Linked DNA regions of Homo sapiens: regions 1, 2 and 3 are each linked to region 4. Evidence: promoter capture Hi-C in human tissues and cell types (Jung and others, 2019). All regions are on one chromosome and are shown on one strand. Each heading gives the region's core, a stretch centred on a gene start or on the middle of the fragment in contact. The rest is flanking DNA. Distances are from core to core; before and after follow the strand shown.

Region 1 (7,555 bases), core at 87-2,586, 310 kb after region 4:
GGCTAACCAGCTATCTTAGACCTTCCATTTGTTACAAATGGCATTTTTTGCCCCATTTATCTGAAATGCCACTTTTTTTTTTTAGACGGTGTTTCTCTCTTGTTGCCCTGGCTGGAATGCAATGGCACGATCTCCACTCACCCCAACCTCCGCCTCCTGGGTTCAAGCGGTTCTCCTGCCTCAGCTTCCTGAGTACCTGGGATTATAAGCATGTGCCACCATGCCCAGCTAATTTTGTATTTTTAGCAGAGACGGGGTTTCTTCATGTTGGTCAGGATGGTCTCTAACTCGTGACCTCAGGTGATCCACCCGCCTCTGCCTCCAAAAGTGCTGGAATTATAGGCATCAGCCAATGCACCCGGCTTTTTTTTTTTTTTTTTTTTTTTTTTTTGAGACAGAGTCTCGCTGTGTCGCCAGGCTGGAGTGAAATGGCGTGATCTCGGCTCACTGCAACCTCTGCCTCCCAGGTTTGAGCAATTCTCTTGCCTCAGCCACCCGAGTAGCTGGGCTTACAGGCGCCCACCACAACGCTTGGCTAATTTTTTTTTTTTTTTTTTTAGACGGAGTCTCGCTCTATCGCCAGGCTGGAGTGCAGGGGAGCGATCTTGGCTCACTGCAACCTCCGCCTCCTGGGTTCAAGCGATTCTCCTACTTCGGCCTCCTGAGTAGCTGGGATTACAGGCACCCGCCACCATGCCAGCTAATTTTTCTATTTTTAGTAGAGACGGGGTTTCACCAAGTTGGCCAGGATGGTCTCGATCTCGTGACGTCGTGATCTGCCTGCCTCAGCCTCCCAAAGTGCTGGGATTACAGGCATGAGCCAGCATGCTCGGCCATGCTTGGCTAAATTTTTTTTCTTTTTTGAGACAGAGTCTCACTCTGTTGCCCAGGCTGGAGTGCAGTGGTGCGATCTCAGCTTACTGCAACCTCCGCCTTCTGGGTTCAAGCAATTCTCCTGCCTCAGCCTCCTGAGTAGCTGAGATTACAGGCATGCATCACCACACCCAGCTAATTTTTGTATTTTTAGTAGAGATGGGATTTCACCATGTTGGTCAGACTAGTCTCGAACTCCTGACCTCATGATCCGGCTGCCTCGGCTTCCCAAAGTTCTGGGATTACAGGCATGAGCCACCGAACCCGGCTATGTTTTTGTATTTTTAATAGAGATGGGGTTTCACCATGTTGGGCAGGCTGGTTTTGAACTCCTGACCTCAAGTGATCCTCCTGCCTCAGTCTCCCAAATTGCTAGGATACAGGCATGAGCCACCGCATCTGGCAAAATACATTTATGAACCAAATTTCTACATGTTCATGGGTCTATTTTTTGATATTTTATTAGTTTCTGTTTCACGTGCTAGTACCACATAGTTTTAATTATAGAGGCTTTATAGTATGTTTTTTAAATTAATTAATTAATTAATTTTTTAGACAGAGTCTCACTCTGTCAGCCAGGCTGCAATTCAGTGGCACAATCTCGGCTCACTGCAACCTTCATCTCCCAGGCTCAAGCAACTCTCCTGCCTCAGCCTCCCAAGTAGCTGGGATTACAAGCATGTGCCACCACGCTTGCTAATTTTTGTACTTCTAGTAGAGACAGGGTTTCACCATGTTAGCCAGGCTGGTATCAAACCCCCGACTTCAGGTAATTTGCCTGCCTCGGCCTCCCAAATTGCTGGGATTACAGGCGTGAGCCACTGTGCCCGGACTTTATTTTTATTTTAAAATAATGTAATTCTTTGCCTTGCATGAAAACTGTCAATAGTATGTTTTAATATCTGCTGCTCATCATTGCTTTTGTTTTTGTTTTCTTGGTTATTATCAGATGTTTGTTCCTCCACATAAACTTCAGTATCAATGTACTTAACTCCAGAAAAAAACTTTTGGTATTTTTATTGGGAGTATGTTACATTTCTGAATAATCTTGGGGAGAATGTCTGGTATCAGTGCTATTTTACAACGTAGGAAATGTGTTCCTGGCCCATGTGGTAAGATCAGAAAAATAACAACAGAAATACATATTTTTGGCTGGGGCAGTGGCTCATGCCTGTAATCCCAGCTCTTTGGGAGGACCAGGTGGATGGATCACGAGGTCAGGACTTTGAGACCAGCTGGGTCAATATGATGAAACCATGTCTGTATTAAAAATGCAAAAATTAGTTGGGCGCAGTGGCACATGCCTGTAGTCCCAACTACTCAGGAGGCTGAGGCAGAAGAATGGCTTGAACCCAGGAGGCAGAGTTTGCAGTGAGTGAAGATCGCACCACTGCACTCCAGTCTGGGTGGCAGAGCGAAACTATGTCTCAAAAAAACAAAACAAAACAAAACATTTTTTAATTTAAATTTTTTTTATATATATATAGAGAGATGGGGTTTTGCTGTGTAGCCCAGGCTTGTCTTAAACTCCTGGCCTTAAACGATCCTACCATCTTGGCCTGGCAGATATTTTAGGCCAGGAGTTCGAGATCAGCCTGGCCAACCTGGTGAAATCGTTCTCTACTAAAAATACAAAAATTAGCTGGGCGTGGTGGCAGGCGCCTGTAATCCCAGCTACTCCAGAGGCTGAGGCAGGAGAATTGCTTGAACCTGGGAGGTGGAGGTTGCGGTGAGCTGAGATCACACCACTGCACTCCAGCCTGGTCTGATCCAGTGAGATCTGTCGCAAGCAAGCAAGCAAGCAAGAAAGAAAAAGAAAACCCAATGGAATCAGCAGGTTCTAAAAAATAAAGAATGAAGAAAAAAAGGCCTACAGAAACTCTGACTGAATGGAAGGGATAGACCATGCCATTCATTGGCAGCTTTATCAATATGGAAGAATCATGGAAAGGCTCTAGGAACATGAGGAGAGGCATACAAACAAGCTTTATATTTATATCTAAAAAGTAAAGCAGAGGTTCCTCTTCAAAGACGTTCCTTCACATTTAATTAGGAATAAATAGTAACTTCTCTTAGAAGCAAAATTTATTCAAAGACCTGTGCTAACATTCTCAAGTATCTGTGAGCCGTGATAAAGAAATCAATGTACTTTATATTCTTAGCTCCCACAGTTTAGTCTACATATTTGCCCTGGCATGCTTGTACTGGTCCAGGCAAGCATTAGGGCATAGCCTGTTCTTTTTCCTTATTTGAAGATGTTTTGACCCTTCTCAGCATTCCACAAGTTACTTCCTCCTTCCTTTGTTCTCCTCTACCCTTGCCTCTTTTAAAAAGTTATAAGTTGCTAGCCAGAACGTGAGGTCCCATTCCAGCCAGTGGAAACTGGACACAGCAGTAGGTTGGAAGCATCAGGTTATAAATGACCCTATCTCCTTTGTTTGGTGTACTCTCGTGGCAAAACTGCTGGTGAGTATACCGTTTCTGCAGGAAGTAAAAATGGCCTTGCTGAGTAAATTAAATTTATGTTCAAGTGCTAATTTCTTTATGGCACCAGGGAACAAGCATTTTGAACATGTATATTTATATATTTTTTATATATTTATATATTTATATGTATTTATACATATATGTTTATATATATATATATAGAGAGAGAGAGAGAGAGAGAGACAGGGTCTTGCTACTTTGCCCAGGCTGGTCTCAAACTCTTGGACTTGTAGAAAATGAAATAAATACAGGTTCCTCTTCAAAGGGACTTTCCTCCCAGTCTGATTGAAATAAATAGTAATCCCTCTTAGAAGCCAAATTTTCTCAAAGACCTGTGGTAATATTGTTAAATTCTGCCAGCCGTAATAAAGAAATCAATAGACTCTGTTTTTAGCTCCCACATTTTAGCCTAGATATTTGCCCTGGCATGCCTGAACTGGTCCAAGCAACTATTAGGTCATGGCCTATTCCTTTCCCTATTTAGAAGTGTTTTTGCCTCTCTCAACAGTCCACAAGTTACTTCCTCTCTTCCTTTGTTCTCCTCTGCCATTGCCTCTTTTGGGAAGTTCTAAGTTGCTAGCCAATCCAGTGAAGTACAGGAAGGTGAGGTCCCGTTCCAGCCAATGGAAGCTGGACACAGCAGAAGGATGGACACTTCAAGTTTAAAAAAACCCTGTCTCCTTTGTTAATGTGTGCTCTGGTGGCAAGACTGCCAGCCAGTGGCACCCATTCTGCAGAAAGTAAAACTAGCCTTGCTGAGATCCTTTGTCTCAGTGTTGATTTTGTGACACCAAGCGAGCACCCATTCCCAGCAGACTCAAGCTATTTACCTACCTTAGCCTCCCAAAGTGCAGGAATTACAGGCGTGAGCCACTGCGCTCGCCCGATAAAAGCTTTGGAGGAGCATCCCCCGGGGATGCGTCCCATCCCTCATCCCCGCCCTTCCAGCCCGACCGGCCACCTGAACCACCGGCTAGGCCGGGTCCCTCCTCTAAATCACCCCCCGAGTACGAGCCCCTCCCCTCGCCCACAGTTCCGTCTGGAGGCCCGGTTCTAACCTCACCTTTTTCTCTGGACCTAGTTCTGCATCCCCCTCCCTGAGCCAACCCCAGGCCCTTTCTGCACCCACCCGAGAGGAAACTAGAATTTCTGTGTTCTACCCGGTCCTACGTGGCTGAAACTGGAGCCCACGAGCCTCGCCCGGCCAGAGTGTTGAAGCGGAAGTGACGTCAGCGCACCACCGCCATCTTTTCCGGCGCTGGCTCCTCTCCGTCAGTGCGGTTTCGCCTTTATGGTGGTGGAGTCTGCCCAGGCTGTGGTGAGTTCCACCTCCTTGGCGGTCCCGGGGATAGCAGGGGGCGGCAAAGGAATGATTGCGCGCTGTCGCCTAGGAGCCTCTCAGATCCGCTTCACTTCACTCGCTTCTCCAGGGACTATCAGTCCTCCCTGTGCGTCCAGTTCGGAGAGGCTGCGCGCTCTCTCGGCTCACTGCAACCTCTGCAACCTCTGCCTCCAGGGTCAAGCAGTTCTCCTGCCTCAGCCTTCCGAGTACCTGGGATTACAGGCAAGTGCCACCACGCCCGGCTACTTTTTCTATCTTTAGTAGAGATGGTTTTGCCATGTTGGCCAGGCTGGTCTTGAACTCCTGACCTTAGGTGATCTGTCTGCCTCGGTCCCCCAAAGTGCTGGGATTATAGGTGTGAGCCACTGCACCCGGCCGACTTTTGAAAATTTTAGATTTTGTTCTTAAGTCATCTTAGGTACGTAATGAAGTTATCAATAACACACGTGGCTGGTGACTACTGAATTGTTCTGTGCAGGTCTGCACTGTCTTCTGGTCATATGGCGGGGGGGTAACACCATATACAGGAGATCAGGCTCTAGGGACAAGTATCAGACCGACTACTAGGGTTGTTTGAGTGTAGGTTTTTTTCAGTATTAAATAGAAGTAATGGGCCAGGCATCGTGGCTTATGCTTATTATCCCAGCACTTTGGGAGGCCAAGTCAGGAGGATTGTTTGAGCCCAGGAGTTTGAGACTAGCCTAGGCAATCTGGTGAAAACTTGTCTCTACTAAAACTACAAAAAATTAGCCGGACCCAGTGGTGTGCACCTGTAGTCCCAGCTAGTTGGGGGGCTGAAGTGGGAGAATCACTTAAGGCCAGGAGTTCAAGACCAGCCTGGCCAATATGGCGAAACTGCGTCTCTACTAAAAATGCAAAAATTAGCCAGGCATGGTAGTGCATACCTGAAATCCCAGCTACTCGGGAGGCTGAGGCCTGATAATCGCTTGCACCTGGGAGGCAGAGGTTGCAATGAGTTGAGATCATGCCACTGCATTCCAGCCTGGGCAACAGAGTGAGACTCTGTCTCAAAATAATAATAATAATAATGAGTGATGATACGCACCTATGGTCCCAGCTATTCAGGAGGCTGAAGTGGGAGGATCACTTGAGCCCGGGAAGTCTAGGCTACAGAGAGTTGTGTTAGTGCCATTGGATTTCAACCTGGGCAACAGAGTGAGACCCTGTCTCGATAGATAGATAGATAGATAGATAGGATAGATATAGATAGATAGATATAGATAGATATATAGATAGATAGATATAGATAGATAAATATAGATAGATATAGATAGATAGAGGTAATGATAGCTACTGGGAAGGATGGCTATGATAATTAACTGAGCATGTATATATAAAGCTACTAGAGCTACTTCTGACATATCAGTCCTCAGTAAATGTCAGTTACTGTTATTAATACTTTTGTTACTGAGTGACGGTACTGAGTGGGCAATTTTTGGTGGCCTTCACATCTGTCACCTGCAGAGACAAAGCTCAGGCATAATGTTTGATGACTGATGTTTCATGCTTGTTGTTTGATGATTGATATGAACAGGACCGCAAATAACCCTGTACAAAGAGGAATGGAGATTGCCTCTATCCACCTAGATTCATAAGCTGGCCTGAGGTGATCTTGGCATCAAGGAAGGGATGCACATCATCACACCATCAGCTTCAGAGAATGGCAGCCATTTATTTGTCCCGTGGTAAGTCTTTGTTGATGCTCTTTTTCAGAGATTCTGCTTTAGGTCACCCTCCACAACACAAGCGTCCAGTGAGCTGAGCCTGAGCAGGCATGCAGCTGGTTCTTTTAGGAGGAATTGAAGTGAACCACAGAACAGAATGCTGTTTTATTATTTATTTATTTATTTATTTATTTTTGAGACAGAATCTTGTTCCGTCACCCAGGCTGGAGTGCAGTGGTGCAATCTTAGCTCACTGCAACCTTCACCTCCCAGGTTCAAGTGATTCTCTTGCCTCAGCCTCCCAAGTATCTGGGACCACAAGCACATACTGCCAGACCTGGCTAATTTTTGTTTGTTTGTTTGTTTTTGTTTTTGAGACAGAATCTCACTCTGTCTCCCAGGCTGGAGTGCAGTGCCTGTGGTCTCGACTCACTGCAACTTCTGTCTCCTGGGTTCAAGTAATTCTCTGCCTCAGCCTCCCATAATTTTTCTATTTTTAGTAGAGATGGGGTTTCATAATGTTGGCCAGGCTGGTCTCAAATTCCTGACCTCAAGTGATTTGCCCGCCTTGGCCTCCCAAAGTATTGGGATTACAGGCATGAGCCACTGTGCCCAGCCAGAATGCTGTTTTAGAATTCAGCCCTGGTTTGTGTACCTTAGGAAATGCTACATAAGCTTCATGAGTGTTACTACTATGGGCAGATAGAGAGTCACTTTTTTTTTTTTTGAGACGGAGTCTTGCTCTGTCACCCAGGCTAGAGTGCAGTGGCACGATCTCGGCTCACTGCAAGCTCCGCCTCCTGGGTTCACACCATTCTCCTGCCTCAGCCTCCTGAGTAGCTGGGACTATAGATGCCCACCACCACATCTGGCTAATTTTTTGTATTTTTAGTAGAGATGGGGTTTCACCGTGTTAGCTAGGATGGTCTCGTTCTCCTGACCTCATGATCCACCCGCCTCGGCCTCCCAAAGTGCTGGGATTACAGGCATGAGGCACCGCACCTGGACGAGAGTCACATTTTTCAGGGTGTAAGTTTCCTTGAAAAATGAAACTATTACCCTTTACCCAACAGGCAGTTTGGCCCAAGTCTGCTTTTGTGTCTAGCTGACACAGGACTTACTATGGCATTTCATGGAAGTGTTGTGTGTGTAGTTTTCTCGAGTGTGT
Region 2 (7,282 bases), core at 2,120-4,619, 370 kb before region 4:
CAGGGATTGGAATGTGAGATAGATTTATTTGTTCATTTATTTATCTGAGACAGAGTCTCGCTCTATCACCCAGGCTGGACTGCAATGGCATGATCTTGGCTTACTGCAACCTCTACCTCCAGGGTTCAAGTGATTCTCCTGCCTTAGCCTCCCGAGTAGCTGGGATTACAGGCAACTGCCACCATGCCCGGCTAAGTTTTTGTATTTTTAATAGAGATGGGGTTTCGCCATGTTGGCCAGGGTGGTCTCAAACTCCTGACCACAGTTGATCTGCCTGCCTTGGCCTCCCAAAGTGCTGGGATTACAGACATGAGCCACTGTGCCGGGCTAGTAGAGGTAAGTGGCCTGGCAAGGTGTGGTGGCTCACGCCTGTAATCCCAGCACTTTGGGAGGCTGAGGCGAGCGGATCACGAGGTCAGGAGATCAAGACCATCCTGGCTAACATGGTGAAACCCTGTCTCTACTAAAAATACAAAAACAAAATTAGCCAGGCATGGTGGCAGGCGCCTGTAGTCCCAGCTGCTCTGGGAGGCGGAGGCAGGAGAATGGCGTGAATCCGGGAAGCGGAGCTTGTAGTGAGCCGAGATCACGCCACTGCAGTCCAGCCTGGGCAACAGAGCGGGACTCCATCTCTAAGAAAAAAATTACAAAGGAAAACAAAGGAATGAATGAGGGGGATGGGGGAACTGCAAGACTAAGTGAAGGAGTTTGGATTTTATTCTGAGTGTGAAAACCCTTTGGAAAGTTTTAGGCCAGGAGGGACATGATCCCCAAGCACCGGTCTCTGTGATCAGAGGATGTGGGGGTGTGACCAAGGGCAGGTGGTCAGCAGAAAACTTCAGGTTCTGTCTCTTTCAACCCTAATTCCTGGTCTGGTGCAGTGGCATATGCCTGTAGTCCCAGCATTTTGGGAAGCCAAGGCAGGCAGATTGCTTGAGCTTAGGAGTTTGAGACCAGCCTGGGCCACATGGTGAACCTCGTCTCTACAAAAAAAAAAAAAAAAAAAAAAAATATGGCCAGGTGCGGTGGCTCACACCTGTAATCCCAGCACTTAGGGAGGCCGAGATAGGTGGATCACCTGAGGTCAGGAGTTCAAGACCAGCCTGGCCAGCATGGCAAAACCCCATCTCTACTAAAAATACAAAATTAGCTGGGCGTGATGGTGGGCACCTGTAATCCCAGCTACTTGGGAGGCTGAGGCAGGAGAATCACTTGAACCTGGGAGGCAGAGGTTGCATTGAGCCGAGATCATACCATTGCACTCCAGCCTGGGCAAAGAGAGCGAAACTCCACCTCAAAAAAAAAAAAAAAAAAAAATTAGCCAGGTGTGGTGGTGCGCACATGTAGTCCCAGCTACTCGGGAGGCTGGGGTGGGAGGATCGCTTGAGCCGGGAGGTTGAGGCAGTAAGCTATGACTGAGCCATGGCACTCCAGGCTGGGCAACAGAGTGAGACCCTGTCTCAAAAAAAAAAAAAAAAAATCCTGGCCGGGTGCAGTGGCTTACGCCTGTAATCCCAGCACTTTGGGAAGCTGAGGCGGGCAGATCATGAGGTCAGGAGATCAAGACCATCCTGGCTAACATGGTGAAACCCCAGCTCTACTAAAAAAATATAAAAAAATTAGCCAGGCGTGGTGGCAGGCACCTGTAGTCCCAGCTACTTGGGAGGCTGAGGCAGGAGAATGGCGTGAACCCGGGAGGCAGAGCTTGCAGTGAGCCGAGATCGTGCCACTGCACTCCAGCCTGGGCAACAGAACAAGACTCCATCTCAAAAAAAAAAAAAACAAAATCCTAATGCCTGATTCCTTCCCCCACCACACTGACTGCTGAGTCAGCCGGTCCATCCTCCAAGAGCAGTGGAGAGGTGGGGACACATTAGCCCAGCACAGTGATAGGGTCACAGCAAGGGCTCACAGACTGCGGGGAGCCTGCCTGGCCTTTCCCCTCTCAGCTACCTGGCAGCCAAGTCCCTGCTCCTTAATGGTTCTGCATCTCAGCCTGCTAGGGAGTCCCTGGGAAATGGGGCCTCCCAGATGTCCGTTTGTAAACCCTACACACTGGGGAACAGCTAGCTGAGGACATTGAGGACATGACACAGTGCCTGGTACACACAGTGGAGCTGCAGGCCCAGGAGGGAGACGTGAGGCACGTGGTGGAAGAGAGGTCTACTCCTCTACGCCATTCGCATAGCAGCCCCTTCCTGACTCTGCCACTCACCTGCGCCCCCTTCACTTCCCACCCCTAGGGGCCTGTGAAGCCTCCCTGGCCTGCTCCACCTGCCATGTGTATGTGAGTGAAGACCACCTGGATCTCCTGCCTCCTCCCGAGGAGAGGTGAGTGGGTCAGCCCTGTCTAGCTGGCAGCTTCACCCTGGAGCATTCAGCAGCCCCCACCATCCTCCCCACTTCCAGTTCCTGGAATGGGAGCTGCCTCCCCCACCACTACCCCCTGCGCTCAGTCAGCTTCCTCCCTCCCCCACCTCTGGCCCCCCACCCACCCAGCTAGCTTGCCCTCGGCTAACACTGCCCGTGTCACCACCCTAGGGAAGACGACATGCTAGACATGGCCCCCCTCCTCCAGGAGAACTCGCGGCTGGGCTGCCAGATTGTGCTGACACCGGAGCTGGAAGGAGCGGAATTCACCCTGCCCAAGATCACCAGGAACTTCTACGTGGATGGCCATGTCCCCAAGCCCCACTGACATGAACACCTGGACCATTCCACATTGCCATGGCCCCAGGGCCCAGATTGAGGGAATAGCCAGGTGCCAGCCCTGCCCAGAGTGCGGACAGGCCCGGGAGAGACGTGGAAGCCCCTGTGAAGGACAACACCCCTGCTTGGGAGAGAGTCCCATGTCCAGGCTCTGGTGGGGACAGGGCCCCTAGTGGGGTGGCCTTCCCCAGGCCCCTGAGAATCAGGGTTTGAGTAGGAGTGGACTCATATTGGAGCTGCAATAAATCGATAACACAGGCCCCAGCATGTTGAGTGTCCTTGGGGGACAGATCTGGGGTCTACAGGTGGCTCACACCTGTAATCCTAGCACTTTGGGAAGCCAAGATGGGAGGATCACTTGAGGCCAGGAGCTTAAGACCATCCTGGGCAACATGGCGAGACCTCGTCTCTATAAAAACAGTAAAAATTAGCGTGGAGTGGTGGTAAGTGCCTGTAGTCCCAGCTACTCGGGAGACTGAGGTGGGAGGATCACTTGAGCCCAGGGGATTTAGGCTGCAGTGGAGCGGTGATCAGGCCATTCCACTCCAGCCTGGGTGACAGAGTGAGGCCCTGTCTCAAAAAAAAAAAAAACAAAAACAAAAACAAACCACACCTGCATCTGCTGTGCTGGGCCCCCGGTTCTCTTTTCCCTCTGGGATCTAAGATGCCGCTGGGGATCCAAGGCAGAGGCCTGGGAGCCCCCATTTCCGAGGGGGAGGGCTAGCGTGGAAGGCCCCGCCCCGGCAGCTGCGGAGGGATTTGGTGGGGTCCAGGCCGCCCTTGCCACGCAGGGGTGCGCGGATGACCTGAAAAAAGCCAGAAAGAGGAAAGGTGCCGCCGAGGCTGGTCGCTCTCAGCTGGGGCTCATCGCATCCTCTACCAAGAGCGCTCCCACCACACAGGTCCCGCCCCTCCCAGGTGGGTTTCATCGGGTGGGCCCAGCGGGACAGGGCCGGGTGAAATTAGGGAGGGGGCTGGGCTGGGGCGCAATGGAGGCCGAGCCAATCCCGGACTCCTCAATGCCAGCAAAGCTTCTGGCGCCGCCCTGTCTGAACCTGGAGCGGCTGGGAGGATCCCCCTCCCAGGAGAAGCCGAGGACCCCAGGATGCTGCAGAATCAGTGAGAGGTGCGTAAGGCCAAACCCCATTCCCCGGACCCCGCTAGCACTTCACCACCTGGCTCAGTGATCAAGGGGTCATGACCTCTCTTTGCTGGGGTTATCGAGAAGTGGCAATTTTATAATAGTTACTGAAACTTACAAAGAGGTTCTGGTGCCCAGAGACACTTGGGGTCATCTAGGGATCAGAGGCCATGCAATTCCATGTCTCTGGGGCTGATGTAGGCACTCCCCAGGGATCATCCAGGGGTTATGGAGGGCAACTCAATAATAATGAAAATGATAAAAATCGTAATCATATTATGGCAAGCCAGCGGCGTGGTGGCGCGTGCCTGTAAGTCCCAGCTACTCGGGAGGCTGAGGCGGAAGGATCGGTCGAGCCCAGGAGTTCTAGGCTGCACTGAGTCCTGATCACGCCCCTGCACTCCAGGCGGGGGTACAGAGTGAGGCTCGGTCTCTAAAAGAAACACAAAGAAAAAAAGTAACCTTTTTCTCGATCCTGCAGCCAGAGGCTTGATATCCTGCCTCGGTCACCTAGGGCGGTCCCTGCCTGGGTGATCTACGGGTGCCGTAAGGGGTTGATTGATGTGGAGGGCTGGGCGTGCCTGGGAGGCCCACAGTGGGCGAGGTGAGTTGCAATTACTGCAACTCTTAAACCTTCCACCCAGAGTTAGAAATGACTGAACCTCAGGTGGGGTGTGTAGCCTGTCCAAGGGTACACAAAGAGCCGGCCCAAGTTGGAACCCCCTGGCCGGCTAAACCCAGGAGTCACCCAAGAAAACGTGACCCCACTGCCCTTCTCCCCAGGTCCCTCTGGCCTGCATGCCAGGAGTCGGTCACCGCCCTGTGCTTCCTCCAAGAGACAGTGGAGAGGCTGGGTCAGTCCCCTGCCCAGGACACCCCGGTCCTGGGGCCTTGCTGGGACCCGATGGCTCTGGGGACTCAGGGCCGCCTGCTGCTGGACAGGGATTCCAAGGACACACAGACCAGGATCAGCCAAAAGGGCCGCCGTCTGCAGCCCCCGGGGACTCCCTCGGCCCCACCCCAGAGAAGGCCCCGGAAACAGCTGAACCCCTGCCGGGGCACCGAGAGAGTGGACCCTGGGTTCGAGGGGGTGACTCTGAAGTTTCAGATAAAGCCGGACTCCAGCCTGCAGATCATCCCCACGTACAGGTAGGGGCCGGCTGGGGCCAGGCCGCCCTTTCTCCCAGTTACAACGCAAACACCAGTGTGGGAGGTAGGGGTGCTCTCTGGCGTCGGTGTGGACCCTCACCTGTGCTCTACGTTACACGTGGCCCAGTCTCTGGTTGACAACTTGAGCTGGTGCCAGATACAGTCCTGCCGCTCCTGACTCAGTGGCTCCCCACTCCCAATGTGAGACCTGGTCTCTTTAGGAATCAGGCCTGGCCTTGCTTAGGCTGCAGCTGCGGCTGCGGTGATTTTTCCCAATAATGCTAACAGCTACTATTTGTTGGTAGTGACAACAATAAGAGGTTAACAGGCAGTATTTTATGTGTATGGGCTCATTCAAAAGCCTGGGGAGGCCGGGCACAGTGGCTCACGCCTATAATCCCATCACTTTGGGAGGCCAAGGCGAGCAGATCACCTGAAGTCAGGAGTTTGAGATCAGCCTGGCCAACATAGTGAAACCCCATGTCTACTAAAAATACAAAAAATTAGCTGGGCGTTGTAGTGGGTGCCTGTAATCCCAGCTGCTCAGGAGGCTGAGGCAGGAGAATCGCTTGAACTCAGGAGGTGAAGTCTTCAGTAAGCAGAGATAGCGCCACCTCACTCCAGCCTGAGCCACAGAGTGGGACTCAGTCTCAAAAAAAAAAAAAAAACTAGCTGGGAATGGTAATGGGCACCTGTAATCCCAGCTACTTGGGAGGCTGAGGCAGGAGAATCGCTTGAACCCAGGAGGTGGAGGTTGCACTGAGCAGAGATGGCACCACTGCACTCCAGCCTGGGTGACAGAGCAAGACTCCATCCCCTTAAAAAAAAAAAAAAAAAAGCTTTGGGAAGCTGGGCCTGGTGGCTCACACCTGTAATCCCAGCACTTTGGGAGGCCAAGGTGGGAGGATTGCATGAGCCCAGGAGTTCAAGACCAGCCTGGGCAACATAGTATGACCCCCAGCTCTAATTTTTACCTATTTATTGTTATTATAAAAATTATAATTATGACTTTTTTAATCATGCCGCCAAAACAATATTTTTTTTTTTTTTTGAGATGGAGTTGCACTCTGTCGTTCAGGCTGGAGTGCAATGACACAATCTCGGCTCACTGCAACCTCTGCCTCCCGGATTCAAACGATTCTCCTGCCTCAGCCTCTGGAGTAGCTGGGATTACAGGTGCCTGCTACCACGCCTGGCTAATTTTTGTATTTTTAGTAGAGATGGGGTTTTGCCATGTTGGCCGGGATGGTCTCGATCTCTTGACCTCAGGTGATCCATCTGCCTTGCCCTCCCAAAGTGTTGGGATTACAGGAGTGAGCCGCCACCATGCCTGGCTGCTTTTTTTTGCTTTTGTTTGTTTGTTTGTTTTTGAGACAGGGTCTTGCTCTGTCACCCAGGGTGGAGTGCAGTGGCGCAATCATGGCTCACTGCAGCCTGGACCTCCCAGGCCCAAGCCATCCTCCCTCCTCAGCCTCCCAACTAGCTGGGAGTGCAGGCCTGTACCACCACTCCTGGCTATTTTTTTTGTTTGTAGAGACGGGGTCTCCCTATATTGCCCAGACTCCCATCTCTTTTTAAAAATCAATAAATCAAATTTTCAAAGAAAAAAAAACTGTTGTATTGGGAAGCCCATTTTACAGATGAGGAAACTGAGGCACAGAGTAGGAGATAATGTGTCCAGGCTCACACAGCAAGGACATGGAGAACTGGGATTGGAACCTGGCAGGCTGTCCCTGTGCTTACTATTTTTCAAATAATAATAATAATAATTAGGTCGGGCACGGTAGCTCATGCCTGTAATCCCTGCACTTTGGGAGGCCGAGGTGGGTGGATCACTTGAGGTCAGGAGTTCGAGACCAGCCTGGCCAACATGGTGAAACCCCGTCTGTACTAAAAATACAAAAATTAGCTGGGCGTGGTGTCGCGCGCCTGTAGTCCCAGCTGCTTGGGAGGCTGAGGCTCAAGAATTGCTTGAACCCGGGAGGTGGAGGTTGTAGTGAGCTGAGATGACACCACTACACTCCAGCCTGGGCAACAGAGCGAGACTCCATCTGCAAAAATAATAATAATAATAATAATAATATTACTAATGAGAGGCAAAGCCAGGCCATTCAGATATTAGTTGCCTCCTCGGGGGATGGCTGATACCTTGATACTAAATCTTCATTTCGGAGGGCTGTTGGGGACAAGCTACAGATCCCCCCCAGTGCTAATACCTTGTCTGCCCCACAGCCTGCCCTGCAGTAGCCGTTCTCAGGAATCCCCTGCAGATGCTGTTGGGGG
Region 3 (6,970 bases), core at 2,312-4,811, 410 kb before region 4:
GCACCACTGCACTCCAGCCTGGGTGACAGAGAAAGACTCTGTCTCAAAAAAATAATAATTAAATAAATAAATATACAATATTATTGTTGACTGGATGCAGTGGCTCATTGCTTGTAACCCCAGCACTTTGGGAGGCTGAGGCAGGAGGATCCCTTGAGTCCAGGAGTTCGAGACCAGCCTGGGCAACATAGGGAGATCCTGTCCGTATTTTTATTTATTTATTTATTTGTTTATTTATTTTTGAGGCAGTTTCACTGTTCTCCAGGCTGGAGTGCAATGGTGCTATCTCGGCTCACTGCAACCTCCCCCTCCTGAGTTCAAGCGATTATCCTGCCTCAGCCTCCGGAGTAGCTGGGATTACAGGCGCACGCCACCACACTCGGCTAATTTTGTATTTTTAGTAGAGACGGGGTTACATCTTGTTGGTCAGGCTGCTCTCAAACTCCTGACCTCAGGTGATCTGCCCGCCTCGGCCTCCCAAAGTGTTGGGATTACAGGCGTGAGCCACTACACCTAGCCTATATTATTTTAAAATAAAAATTTTAAAAATGAAGTTGGCTGGATAGAGTGGCTCACGCCTGTAATCCCAGCACAGCACTTTGAAAGGCCAAGGCGGGCGGATCAGTTGAGGTCAGGAGTTTGAGACCAGCCTGCCCAACATGGCAAAACCCTTGTCTACTAAAAATACAAAAATTAGCTGGGCATTGTGGTAGGCGTCTGTAATCCCAGCTACTTGGGAGGCTGAGGCAGGAGAATCACTTGAACCCAGGAGGCAGAGGTTGCCATGAGCCAAGATCAAGCCATTGCACTCCAGCCTGGGTGACAAGAGCAAAACTCTGTCTCAAAAAAAAATAAAAAAAGACACATGCACACGTATGTTTATTGCGGCACTATTCACAATAGCAAAGACTTGGAACCAACCCAAATGTCCATCAATGATAGACTGGATTAAGAAAATGTGGCACATATACACCATGGAATACTATGCAGCTATAAAATAGGATGAGTTCATATCTTTTGCAGGGACACGAATGAAGCTGGAAACCATCATTCTCAGCAAACTATCACAAGGACAGAAAACCAAACACCGCATGTTCTCATTCATAGGTGGGAACTGAACAATGAGAACACTTGGACACATGGCAGGGAACAACACACACCCACACCGGGGTCTGTTGTGGGGTAGGGGCCTGCGGGAGGGATAGCATTAGGAGAAATACCTAATGTAGATGATGAGTTAATGGGTGCAGCAAACCAACATGGCACATGTATACCTATGTAACAAACCACATTGTGCACATGTACCCTGGAACTTAAAAAAAAAAAAAAAAAAAAGGAGTCTGAAACCATGAACAATCATCGTTATTTACCAAGTTTGTTCTTGTTGAGGAAAAAAATACAAAAATTAGCCAGGTGTGGTGGCACACACCTGTAATCTCAGCTACTCTAGAGGCTGAGGCAGGAGAATTGCTTGAACTGGAAGGCAGAGTGCATTGAGCTGAGATCGCACCACTGCACTCCAGCCTGGGCGATAGAGCAAGACTGTCTGAAAAAAGAAAAGAAAAAGGTATTATTGTTATTCTGGTGTTTGGCAAAGCGTTTCTACTTAGCCTGTGTGACTTGAGATGGTGGGTCAGACACATTTGTGAAAGGCAGTTAAATATCCCCAGAAGGACTTCTTTTGTGGGGCTGGGGACTGGGTCTCGCTCTGTCACCCACACTGGAGTACAGTGGTGCTATTATAGCCCATGGCAACCTTGACCTCCCAGGCGCAAGTGATCCTCCCACCTCAGCCTCTGTAGGAGCTGGGACTATAGGCTCCTGCCACGTCACCTGGCTAATTTTTTTTTTTTTTTTTTTTTTTTTTTGAGAGGGAGTCTCACTATGTCACCCAGGCTGGAGTGCAATGGTACGGTCTAGGCTCAGTGCGACCTCCACCTCCAGGGTTCAAGCGATTCTCCTGCTTCAGCCTCCCCAGTAGCTGGGATTACAGGCGCCCGCCACCACGCCTGGCTGATTTTTGTATTTTTAGTTGAGACAGGATTTCACCATGTTGGCCAGGCTGGTCTCGAACTCCTGACCTCAGGTGATCCACCCACCTCAGCCTCCGAAAGTGCTGGGATTACAGGTGTGAGCCACCATGCCTGGCCATCTGGCTAATTTTAAAATTTTTTGTAGACACAGCGTCTTACTCTGCTGCCCAGCCTGGTCTCAAACTCCTGGGCTCAAGTGATCCTCCCACCTTAGCCTCTTGAGTAGTAGGATAACCACTCAATTTGTTTAGAGCAGTTTTAGGTTTACAGCAAAGTTGAGTGGAAAATACAGAGTTCTCCTATATCCCCTCCCTCCCATCCCCCTGCACAACCTCCCTTGCTGACCTATCCTGTACCACAGTGATACATGTGTTAGAATCTATGAACCTCGGTGACTCATGCCTGTAATTCCAGCACTTTGGGAGGTCAGGAGTTCGAGACCAGCCTGGGCAACATGGTGAAACCCCATCTCTACTAAAAATACAAAAACTAGCCAGGCATGGTGGCAGGCACCTGTACTCCCAGCTACTTAGGAGGCTGAGGCAAGAGAATTGCTTGAACCCAGGAGGTGGTGGTGGAGGTTGCAGTGAGCCAAGATCATGCCACTGCACTCCAGCCTGAGCGGCAGAGCAAGACTCTGTCTGAAAAAAAAAATCTATGAACCTCCACTGACATATCATTTTCTCCTGAGGTCTGTACTTTACATGAGGGTTCACTCTTGCTGTTGTACGTTCTGTGGGGCTGGACAAACGTATAAGGCATGAACCCACCAATATAGTATCACATGGAGTAGTTTCACTGCGCTAAACGTCATTCATGCGCTGCCTGTTCATCCCTCTCTTCTCACTAACCCCTGGCAACTGCTGATCTGTTATTTACTGTCCCCATAGTTTTGAAACAGAGTCTTGCTCTGTCATCCAGGCTGGAGTGCAGTGGCGCAATCTCTGCTCACTACAACCTCCGCCTCCCACGCTTAAGCTAATTTCTGTATTTTTTGTAGAGGCGAAGTTTCTCCATGTTACCCAGGTTGATGAAGTCCCGGGCTTAAATGATCCCTCTACCTCAGCCTCCCAAAGTGCTGGGCTTTCAGGTATGAGCCACCACACCCGCCCAATAGATCATTTATTTTTAGTTCTGAATAAAAAAATAAAAATACAAACAAGGTCCCCAATTGCGTTTGGTTGAGGCCAGTTTTCTGTAAGTCTCTTTTAGTTCTGAAAAAATAAAATAAATAAAAATACAGGGCCGGGCACAGTGACTCACGCCTGTAATCCCAGCACTTTGGGAGGCCAAGGCAGGCGGATCACCTGAGGTCAGGAGTTCAAGACCAACATGGCCAACATGGCAAAACCCCATCTCTACTAAAAATACAAAAATTAGCCGGATGCGGTGGCGTGTGCCTGTAATCCCAGCTACTCAGGAGGCTGAGGCAGGAGAATCACTTAAACCCAGGAGGCGGAGGTTGCAGTGAGCTGAGATTGTGCCATTGCACTCCAGTCTGGGCAACAAGAGTGAAACTCCATCTCAAAAAATAAAATAAAATAAAAAATAAAAATAAATAAAAATACAAACAAAGTCCCCAATTGCATTTGCTCGAGGCCAGTTTTCTTACGTCTCTTTTGGTCTGTGGGTTCCTCTTTCTGTCTTTTGCCCCCTTGCAACATATTTGTGGATGAAACTAGGTTGTTTGTCTTGTTGACTTTTTTTTTTGAGATGGAGCCTTGCTCTGTCGCCCAGGCTGGAGTGCAGTGGCACGATGTCGGCTCACTGCAACCTCTGCCTCCTGGGTCCAAGTGATTCTCCTGCCTCAGCCTCCTGAGTAGCTGGGATTACAGGCGTGGGGCCAGTACGCCTGGCTAATTTTTGTATTTTTAGTAGAGATGGGGTTTCGCCATGTTGGCCAGGCTGGTCTCGAACTCCTAACCTCAGGTGATCTGCTCGCCTCAGCCTCCCAAAGTGCTGGAATTACAGTCATGAGCCACTGCGCCTGTCATGTTTTCTTCTTTTTCTGCATTGCTATTAAAAATTTTGGCTGGGGCCGGGCGCAGTAGCTCATGCCTGTAATCCCAACTCTTTGGGAGGCCAAGGTGGGTGAATCACCTGAGGTCAGGAGTTAAAGACCAGCCTGGCCAACATGGTGAAACCCCTGTCTCTACTAAAAATACAAAAATTAGCTGGGTGTGGTGGCGGGCGCCTGTTATCTCAGCTACTTGGGTGGCTGAGGCAGGAGAATCACTTGAACCTGGGAGGTGGAGGTTGTAGTGAGCCGAGATCGTGCCACCGCACTCCAGCCTGGGCGACAGAGCAAGACTTAATCTCAAAAAAAAAAAAAGAAAAGAAAAAATTGTTTCCTCATAATCGTAAAGCTGTTATACTCACTGCAGGCACAGCTAGTACATTTTGCTCAACCCCACAGGCTCCGTTCCCTTTACGAGGTATTTATTTATTTATTTATTTTTATTTTTGCGACGGAGTCTCTCTCCTCTGTCATCCTGGCTGGAGTGCAGTGGCATGATCTCGGCTCACTGCAACCTCGGCCTCCAGGGCTCAGTCGGTTCTTGGGCCTCAGTCTTCCAAGTAGCTGTAAGTACAGGCATGCGCCACCACGTCCGGTGAATTTTTTGTATTTTTAGTTGCCATGTTGGCCAGGCTTTTACTAGCTATTTATAATATGCTTGAGTCACTCACAGGAATGAAATACTGTCAGCATCAATAGTTAGCAGCTCTTTCAAAATACATTTTATTGCCTCTATAAGAAACCTTAACTATTCTATTAGTCCAGTAATTCCAAATGGTCTTATTATTTCTTGGGTTTTGTTTGTTTGTTTGTTTGTTTTTGAGACGTTGTTTCTCTCTTGTTGCCCAAGCTGGAGTGCAATGGTGTGACCTCGGCTCACTGCAAACTCCTCCAAGGTTCAAGTGATTCTCCGGCCTCAGCCTCCTGAGTAGCTGGGATTACAGGCACGAGCCACCATGTCTGGCTAATTTTTTGTATTTTTAGTAGAGACTGGGTTTCCTCATGTTAGTCAGGCTGGTCTCGAACTCCTGACCTCAGGTGATCCATCCGCTTCAGCCTCCCAAAGTCCTGGGATTATAGGCATGAGCCACCGCACCTGGCTCGTCTTATTATTTCTATACATAATATATGCTCTTTTGGCTGGGCGTGGTAGCTCAAGCCTGGTGGCAGACGCCTGTAATCCCAGCTACTTGGGAGGCTGAGGCAGGAGAATCGCTTGGACCTGGAAGGCAGAGGTTGCAGTGAGCCAAGACTGAACCACCTCACTCCAGCCTGGGCAACAGAGTGAGAACCCATCTCAAAAAATACTGATAATAATAAGATCATCTTCAGAACTCAGTTCCTGGTGCATGAAGAGATTCAATACAGCCCCCTCACTCTCAGTTCTTAGAAAGAAGAATATGCCAGCCTGACCAACATGGTGAAACCCCCGTCTCTAATAAAAATACAAAAATTAGCTGGGTGTGGTGGCGCACGCCTGTGATCCCAGCTACTCAGGAGGCTGAGGCAGGAGAATCGCTTGAACCTGGGAGGTGGAGATTGCAGTGAGCCCAGCCTGGGAGACAGAGCAAGACTCATTCTCAAAAAAAAAAAAAGAAGAAGAATATGAAAGAGATAGGATCAATAACTACCTTCATTGTTTAATAGCCTAAGAGTGAAAGCCCAGCACAGTGGCTCACCCCTGTAATAATCCCAGCACTTTGGGAGGTTGAGTTGGGAGGATCACTTGAGCCCAGGGGTTCGAGAACAGCCTGGGCAATATGTCAAAAGCTCCTCTGTAGAAAAAATACAAAAATTAGCCGAGTGTAGTGGCACACACCTATAGTCCCAGCTACTAGGGAGGCTGAGGTGGGAGGATCACCTGAGCCTGGGAGGTCAAGGTTGCAGTGAGCCATGATTATGTCACTGCATTCCAGCCTGGGAGACAGAGCCAGACCCTGTCTCAGGAAGAAGAAGAAAAAAAAAAAAGCCAAATCTTTTTATCCCAGGATGTCTGAAAAGGACAGAGTCTATGGAGCATGGATGCAGAAAAGTAGTTATTCCTACCAGAAAAAAAAAAAATGAAATGTGGACACAGCCACTCAAGATCAGAGACTCAACCAGTGAAAGCAATTAGCTTCAATTTCATTGTCACCAGGAGGGCGCACACCAGAGAACCTGGGAGAAAGCCTGGGCTAGAGCCCTTAGCATTCTCAGTGTTACTGGTGCTGTGGTTCAACAACCTTTGTGGGAATGAGGAGAACCAGAGACCATCACCATCACACGTAAAAAGGATCCTATAGCAACAATGTGGCTGTCAAAAATCAGCTGGAGGCCAGGCGCGGTGGCTCACGCCTGTAATCCTAGCACTTTGGGAGGCCGAGGCGGGCGGATCACCTGAGGTCAGGAGTTTGAGACTAGCCTGGTCAACATGGTGAAACCCCGTCTCTACTAAAAATGCAAAAAATTAGCTGGGTGTGGTGGTGCATGCCTGTAATCCCAGCTACTTGGGAAGTTGAGGCGGGAGAATCACTTGAACCTGGGAGGCAGAGGTTGCAGTGAGCCCAGACTATGCCACTGCACTCCAGCCTGGGTGACAGACTGAGACCCTGTCTCAAAAAAAAAAAAAAAATCAGCTGGAGCTTAAATTATACATTGTTTGCAATCCAGACTGTACTTGCTTTCTTGTCAATGGCTTGAGATATGTGCAGAGGCCCCTTAAACATGTGTAGGTGACCTTTCTCTGTCGCCCAGGCTGGAGTGCAGGGGCACAATCTCAGCTAACTGCAACCTCCACTTCCCGGGCTCAAGCAATCCTCCCGCTGCAGCCTCCTGAGTAGCTGGGACTACAGGTGTGTGCCATCAAGCTTGGCTGATTTTTTTGTACTTTTTTTTTTTTTTTCGAGATGGAGTCTCGCTCTGTCGCCCAGGCTGGAGTGCA
Region 4 (6,750 bases), core at 2,705-5,204:
CACCACCATGCCTGGCTCATTTTTGTATTTTTGGTAGAGATGCAGCATCTCTACAGAGATGTTGGCCAGGCTGGTCTTGAACTCCTTGGCTCAAACAATCCACCTGCCTCAGCCTCCCAAAGTGTTGGGATTAGAAGTGTTAGCCATGGCACTCAGCCGATAGGTAGGTTTTGTTTTTGTTTTTTTCTTTTTTGAGACAGAGTTTCACTATTGTTGCCCAGGCTGGAGTGCAATGGCATGATCTCAGCTCACTGCAATCTCTACCTCCTGGGTTCAAGCGATTCTTCTGCCTCAGCCTCCTCAGTAGCTGGCATTACAGACACCTGCTACCATGCCTGGCTAATTTTTTGTATTTTTAGTAGAGACAGCATTTTGCCTTGTTGGGCAGGCTGGTCTCAAACACCTGACCTCAGGTGATCCACCCACTTCAGCCTCCCAAAGTGCTGGGATTACAGGTATGAGCCACCGCACCTGGCCCTATTAGGTTGGTTTTAAGCGCAAACTGGAGCAGGTGAATCAACTCTAGTTGCTAGCTATCATCTTTGCAAGGACTGAAACAACAAAGGGAGGTGGTAGTTACCTGAATCCAGGAGCTGCAGTTACCTGGCCAGTCACCTGCCCCCACCCCCCACCATGGTGGGGAATACCTAATGGGACTGAGACCACAGAGGAGGCACAGCAGCCATGGCTAGAGACACTCAAAGTGGAGGGGGGGAAATTCTCTGGCTTCTCCTTTCTTGGCACCCTCCAATCTGCCTGTAGACCTCCCATTGGCTGAGCCTAACCAGATGCAAAGAAGCCTGGGAAATGTAGTGTGTAGAGAACCTGAGAAAGATAATTTGCAGGAGCCATTGCCCTGATACAGAGGGGAGCAGGGGGAAAGTGGGGAATAGATCTAAGTGCATATCGACCAAATTCCAACCATATAACACAGGCTGTAGCTTAGTTGTAACTGTGATCGTCTTAGTGACCAGAGCCCAAGGAGGACACTGTTCATGGTCCTGAAATGCAGCATTCATGAGTCAAGAGTGCTGACTCTTGACCGTGAGACCCACTCTTGGTCAAGAGCTTGTGGGTCCTACCAACCAATGTCCTCCTTTTATGCAATGCCAACTGCAGGCTTGGCCTGAAGGGCCCACAAAGGACTGTCTCCCATTTGGGAAAAGGAGATAGAAGAATAGGATGGGTGCGGTGGCTCATGCCTGTAATCCCAGCACTTTGGGAGGCTGAGGCAGGTGGATCACCTGAGGTCAAGAGTTCATGACCAGCCTGGCCAATATGGTGAAACCCCATCTCTACTAAAAATATGAAAAATTAGACAGGCCTGGTGGCAGGCACCTGCAATCCCAGCTACTTGGAAGGCCGAGGCGGGAGAATTCCTTGAACCCGGAAGGCAGAGGTTGTAAGCCGAGATCAAGCCACTGCACTCCAGCCTGGGTGTGACAGTGTGAGACTCCATCTCAAAAAAAAAAAAAAAAAAAAGAGATAGAAGAATAAACAGGATGTCTTCGCAGGCTCAGACTCTATTTTGTGTCCACATCCCATGATGAGTGTCCTCAACCCAGTGCATGGTTGGTTATTGCAAGGCGTGCTGGGGAGTGAGTGCTAGCTAGGTGCTCTCTTTGCTTAGAGTCACAGATGTCTCCCAATAACTGCAAAAAACAGGTCTTCTAAGAGGGGGAAAGCTTTTTCCCTAAGGTCACATGGCCAAGAAGTGGCAGCACCAGGGTTGAACCCAGATCTGTGGGTCACCAAGCTCTTTCTCATTGACCTGACAAAACCATCATCGACATGTTTTATCCCCAGTAGGGTTGAGACAGGAATGATCCAGGGTGGTCACAGGCAGCCGTTTCACATGACTAGAGGCTATGGGCTGATAAGATCCTGAAAACCAGGGTGTGGACCAAGCTGGCTAAGACCTACTGGACCCAACATGGCGTTACATTCTACCTAGGTTTCACCTAGGATCTCATTATGTACTCATTAAAATACTAAAATTACCCACCCACCAGCGCCCTTGACAATTCCAGGGACACCCAAATTTGGTGTAAAAGTGGGTGGCACCACAGTCCACCTTTTTCCAGTTTTCATGAATATTCCATCCCTTGGTTAAAGAGATACACAGTGGCCTGTTGTGGTGGCTCACGCCTGTAATCTCAGCACTTTGGGAGGCCAAGGCGGGTGGATCACGAGGTCAGGAGTTTGAGACCAGGCTGGCCAATATGGTGAAACCCTGTCTCTACTAAAAACACAAAAAATTAGCCGGCTGTGATGGCGCACACCTGTAATCCCAGCTACTCAGGAGGCTGAGGCAGGAGAATTGCTTGAACCTGGGAGGCAGAGGTTGCAGTGAGCCGAGATCACACCACTGCACTCCAGCCTGGGTGACAGAGCGAGACTTTGTCTCAAAAAAAAAAAAAAAAAAAAAAAAAAAGAGACACATAAAGGTAGCAGTCCCAAACCACCTTGCCCATCTCTCTCTCTTAAGTACGCCCACTCCCTTTTCTCAAGTGTGGACTTTTCCCTTAACAAAAAAATCTCCGAACTTTTCATGATTTTCTGATTCCTCCTTGAATTCATTCTTGCGATGGTGTTAAGAGCCTGGACACCAGCTGGGGTCGAGGCCCCACCAGCGTCTGGGGAGACCCCTCCTAGCCCAACAGTATCAGGGTCACAAAAATGCCAGGCTTCCTGGCCTCGCATATTTTATGCCCGATTTCTTTCCAATCTGACTTATTTGCCCGCCCCCCTCCTCCACCTCTGCCTACATATATCCGAATCCCTAGAGGGGCTGTGGGGAGGAAAGACGACTAGGGACACTTTTTTTTTTTTTTTTTTTTTGAGACAAGGTTTGCTCCTGTTGCCCAGGCTGGAGTGCAATGGCACGATCTCTGCTCACTGCAACCTCTGCCTCCCGGGTTCAAGCGATTCTCCTGTCTCAGCCTCCCGAGTAGCTGGGATTCCAGGCATGCACCACCACGCCCGGCTAATTTTTGTATGTTTTAGTAGAGGTGGGGTTTTGCCATGTTGGCCAGGCTGGTCTTGAACTCCTGACCTCAGATGATCCACCCTCCTCAGCCTCCCAAATTGCTGGAATTACAGGCGTGAGCCACCGCGCCCGGCCTAGGGAGACTTTTGGAGGAGTGAGAGGCAGAGAAAGGCTGGAAAGCCTCCCGAAAGTGAGGCTAGACAAGGACGCCCTTCATATGCAAATGGCTTCGCGTGGAGGCGGTGTTAATATTTTGATTCTCTCGGGGGATGTGGTCTTTCATCTTGGGCTATTGAAACAGGGAGCGAAGAGAAACTCTTCCAGGTGTGGCGGAGGCGGGGAGGCTTCCAGCGGGAGGACTGGTGGGGAAATGGGGCGCCCGGGGAGAGTGAAAACGAGACGCCCCTTTTTGAGGCCAAGCCCACCCACGTGGCCATTTCCATTGGCCTCTTGCCTGATTCTCGGTCTCCTGTCCCCCCAACCTCAATTTTTTCCTCTTATTCCCCGTCTCCATCTATGCCTCACCCCTCTTGTCCTGGCATTGACCCCTCCTCCAACTTCCAATTTCAGATTCTGCCTCAGTTTCCCTGTTGACTCTTGAGTTTTTAGGGAGGGGGCGTTCATCATTTCCCCTCTCTGCTACCAGGCCTTCCTCCTATTCCTCTCCCCCAACCATTCGTCCCCGTCCCACCTGCAACGTGGGAAATGCCCCCGGAGGGTGAAATTTACAAACACGTGACGGGCACCCCTCCCCCACCTCCGCGACCCGCTCCCGGAATGGCCTGGGGGTTGGGGGGCGCTGCCAAGTCCTGTCCTCAGGTCCCCTCGCCGGCGCTGGCTCCCCCACTTCCCCGCCCCCACCCCCCCACCCGACCCTGCTCGAGCTGCTCCCGAAGAGGAGCTGGGGGCGGGGCGGGGGGCGGAGCCCGCAACAAAGACTCGGAGCGAGCGAGGGGGCGGGGGTGGGGCGGAATCCCGGCCGCCGGCGAGGCGGGGGAGGCGGCGGCGCAGGGTCGCCCCGGCCGGGCGGGCGGGGTCGCGCCTGGTGGCGGTCCCCGCGCCGAGGCGCCGCTAGGGCGGGCGGGGGTCGGGACGCCGGGCTAGGGGCGCGTCATGTGGCCGCTCACGGTCCCGCCGCCGCTGCTGCTGCTGCTGTGCTCAGGCCTGGCCGGACAGGTAGGGGCCCGGCGGGCAGGTGCGGGCGCGGGTGGCTCCGGGAGAGGAGGGGGGCGCGGAGGGTTCCCGGAGAAACGGGGTTGGGAGGCTCCACAAGCCCCCCCAGCTGCAGGGCGGCGAGGGGCGGGGGTCGCAGCGGGGGAGGGGCCGGGACGTGCACTCTCTGGCTTGGGAGAGGACGAGGGGGGCTTCAAATCCAGCCTCAAGCTGGGCTGGTTTGGGGGGTGGCGTCTTTGGGGTTCTCAACCCCTCCATGGCCCCGAGCCCCCACCCCGCCATCTCGCTGGAGCTGAATGGGGTTGGGAGGGAAACTTCAGGGGGCATTGGAGGGGGGCGGTTGCTTACCCTTGACTTCCTCTTCGGGGCCGAGATGCCCAGTTTCTGAAGCCCTCCACTCCTCGCCTGCAGCCCCCAGTGTGGGGCAGGGGACGGGACTCACGTGAGAGTGACTGACGGGGACGCGTGTGAAATGCTGTGGGGGTGCAGGGTAAACGTGTGTGTCTTTGTGTCGTGGTTGGGTGTGACCGGGGGGAGTTTGTGTGTGTGGCGGTTGGGGGGCTTGTCCAACTAGTGCCCGAGTTGGGGTGTGATCAGTACGTGAGACAGAGTCTGTGTGTGACCGTGTCCTCATTACTGGCTCCAGATGACTGGGTGTTGTACAATACGTGTGTGGCCAGGTGTGTGGCCGTGTGAGAGCCTTGGAGTGAGCGTGTGCTATTCTGTACCTTTGGGTAAATCACTCTAAAAGGGTGTGTGTGTGTGCAAGCGCTGTGTGTGCAAACGTGTCCATCCATGCACGTGTGTGTGTGTATCTTGGTGCCTTGCTCACAACCGCACACGCCATTCATACCCTTACAGAAGCGGGTCTCCCTCCCCATGGCACCTTTCTCTTGGGCAGGCTCAGGGAGGCTTGCAAAATGTGGGGCGTCCACGCTCTCTTTTGCTATTGGAAAGCCCCTCTCCTCCTCCATCTTGGGAGTGAGAGCACCCCCAAGTTCTCAGATCTGTAGGAGTTCACAGGGAAGCTGGGATCAAAAATAATAAAATAGTCATTATGATAACAGTGATCATTCATTACGTGCTAATTTGAGAGGTGCTGTTTCAATCACACAGCACAGACTAAGGCATTTAACCCCCTCTGCCTCCTCCCTACTAGAGCATGGTATTGTTACCTCATTTTATGGATGGGGAAACTGAGGCGCAGAAAAGTTAAATCACTTGCTCAAGCTCGAGAGTGACAGAGGTGGGACTGAACCGAGGCAGTCCGGCTCCTGAGCCCACACGATTACCCTCTTGTTAAATAATCCGCTCCATGGGTGTGGACAGCGTCCGTGAAGACATTGCTAGGTGGGCTTTTAGGTAGATAGGCAGGGGAGAAACAATTTGGGCACCTTCCCCTTATCAAGAAAAGAATCAGACCCTTGTGCTCACCCCGAGGGGGGTGTTGGGAGGAATGGAGGTTAGACTCCAGATAGAAGGATTTCCAGGCCACGAGGAGAGATTGTGGGGTCCCCTCCCTCGCTCCTCCATTTCCCCACGCATCTCAGCACCCACGCGCTGGGTGGGATAGGGAGTGTGCCCAGCCCCAGGCATGAGGACACACACAATAGGTACTCAATGGATGTGTGAGCCTGAGAGAAGCCAAGAGACACACCTGGGAGACGAGAGACCAAAAGAGGCACACACTTGAGAAACCAGTGGAAAAAAAATGAGCCAGGAATCAAGTTGAATTATCCTTGACCTAGCAGAGGAGACAGAGAACCACCCCCTGTGGCTTCTCCTCCACTCCCTGCTAGGGGGGCACTAGATTTTCTGGCTTCTCACCAAGATTGGCTAGGATGCCAGAGTTTGCTGCCAGAATTGCAATTGGAGGGTGACTCCTACAGCCCCCAGGGCTGGGAGGGAGTTGCTTTGGGGGCGGGACTAACGAGGTCAGTGGAGGCGGGGCTAAAGGACAACGGGGGCGTGGCCAAATGAGGTAATCCGTTAGGGCGGGGCTGGTGGAATCCTGCCGCGGGCTGCAGTGCCTCCAGGCGGCCACCGCGGGAACTACATGGTTGTGAAACAGTCTCGGCGCCCCATACACCCCCTTGGCGTTGGCCCACCAAGCCTGGCACCCCAGGGAAGGGAGGGGTCTGCAGAGAGGATGCTCTACCCACTCTTCGCTCCCTCCATCACTTTCCAAAGACTTCTTCCCTGTCCCTGATGGGCCCAGGGGTCCTTCCTAGAAATCATTGGTTAATCCATTCAATGAACAGATATGATTATGCACTGGGGATACAGCCACCAACTGAGTCATCAAATCCCTGCTCTCCTGGAGTTGACCTAGCAGAGGAGACAGAAAAGAGCCGAATAACCATGTAATACGGTGTCGGCAACTAAATATACATATAATACAATGCAAGTAGCATGAAGAATAACAGATAAAGTATAGAAGATTAGACTGGAGCCGGGTGCTGTGGCTCACGCCTGTAATCCCAGCATTTTGGGAAGTTGAGGCAAGTGGATCGCCTGAGGTCAGGAGTTCGAGACCAGCCTGGCCAACATAGTGAAACCCTGTCTCTACTAAAAATACAAAAAATTAG

The links. The method cuts DNA at HindIII sites, captures the fragments that hold promoters and counts their contacts. A contact is called where the count stands out against the background at its distance.
Region 1: a contact is called between a fragment that was not itself captured here and the fragment with the promoter of OLFM2 in region 4, in 2 of the 25 tissues and cell types used here (pancreas and spleen).
Region 2: a contact is called between the fragment with the promoter of ZGLP1 here and the fragment with the promoter of OLFM2 in region 4, in 1 of the 25 tissues and cell types used here (dorsolateral prefrontal cortex).
Region 3: a contact is called between a fragment that was not itself captured here and the fragment with the promoter of OLFM2 in region 4, in 1 of the 25 tissues and cell types used here (dorsolateral prefrontal cortex).

The regions. Positions count from the first base shown.
Region 1 is chr19:9,618,285-9,625,839 of GRCh38, reverse strand. It overlaps ZNF561-AS1 (ZNF561 antisense RNA 1), which reads right to left and starts at 4,358. Exons shown (of 4, transcript NR_122038.1): 1 at 4,195-4,358. It overlaps ZNF561 (zinc finger protein 561), which reads left to right and starts at 4,608. Exons shown (of 6, transcript NM_152289.3): 1 at 4,608-4,678; 2 at 6,258-6,408. The coding sequence starts at 6,384. RefSeq lists enhancers at 4,279-4,698, 4,847-5,429. The HindIII fragment of the contact is 4,441 bases long and covers 1-3,556 here.
Region 2 is chr19:10,305,902-10,313,183 of GRCh38, reverse strand. ZGLP1 (zinc finger GATA like protein 1) reads left to right here and starts at 3,369. Exons shown (of 5, transcript NM_001409033.1): 1 at 3,369-3,835; 2 at 4,634-4,999; 3 at 7,232-7,282. The coding sequence starts at 3,699. It overlaps FDX2 (ferredoxin 2), which reads left to right. Exons shown (of 5, transcript NM_001397406.1): 4 at 2,244-2,331; 5 at 2,542-3,139. The coding sequence ends at 2,698. It overlaps FDX2-ZGLP1 (FDX2-ZGLP1 readthrough), which reads left to right. Exons shown (of 9, transcript NR_176052.1): 4 at 2,244-2,331; 5 at 2,542-3,835; 6 at 4,634-4,999; 7 at 7,232-7,282. RefSeq lists an enhancer at 7,123-7,282. The HindIII fragment of the contact is 11,191 bases long and covers 1-4,789 here.
Region 3 is chr19:10,342,657-10,349,626 of GRCh38, reverse strand. No RefSeq gene overlaps it. Among named protein-coding and RNA genes, the nearest start is that of ICAM3, 6.5 kb to the right of the region's middle. The HindIII fragment of the contact is 7,561 bases long and covers 1-6,970 here.
Region 4 is chr19:9,933,719-9,940,468 of GRCh38, reverse strand. It overlaps OLFM2 (olfactomedin 2), which reads left to right and starts at 3,954. Exons shown (of 6, transcript NM_058164.4): 1 at 3,954-4,165. The coding sequence starts at 4,103. RefSeq lists enhancers at 2,935-3,437, 4,104-4,698. The HindIII fragment of the contact is 7,550 bases long and covers 193-6,750 here.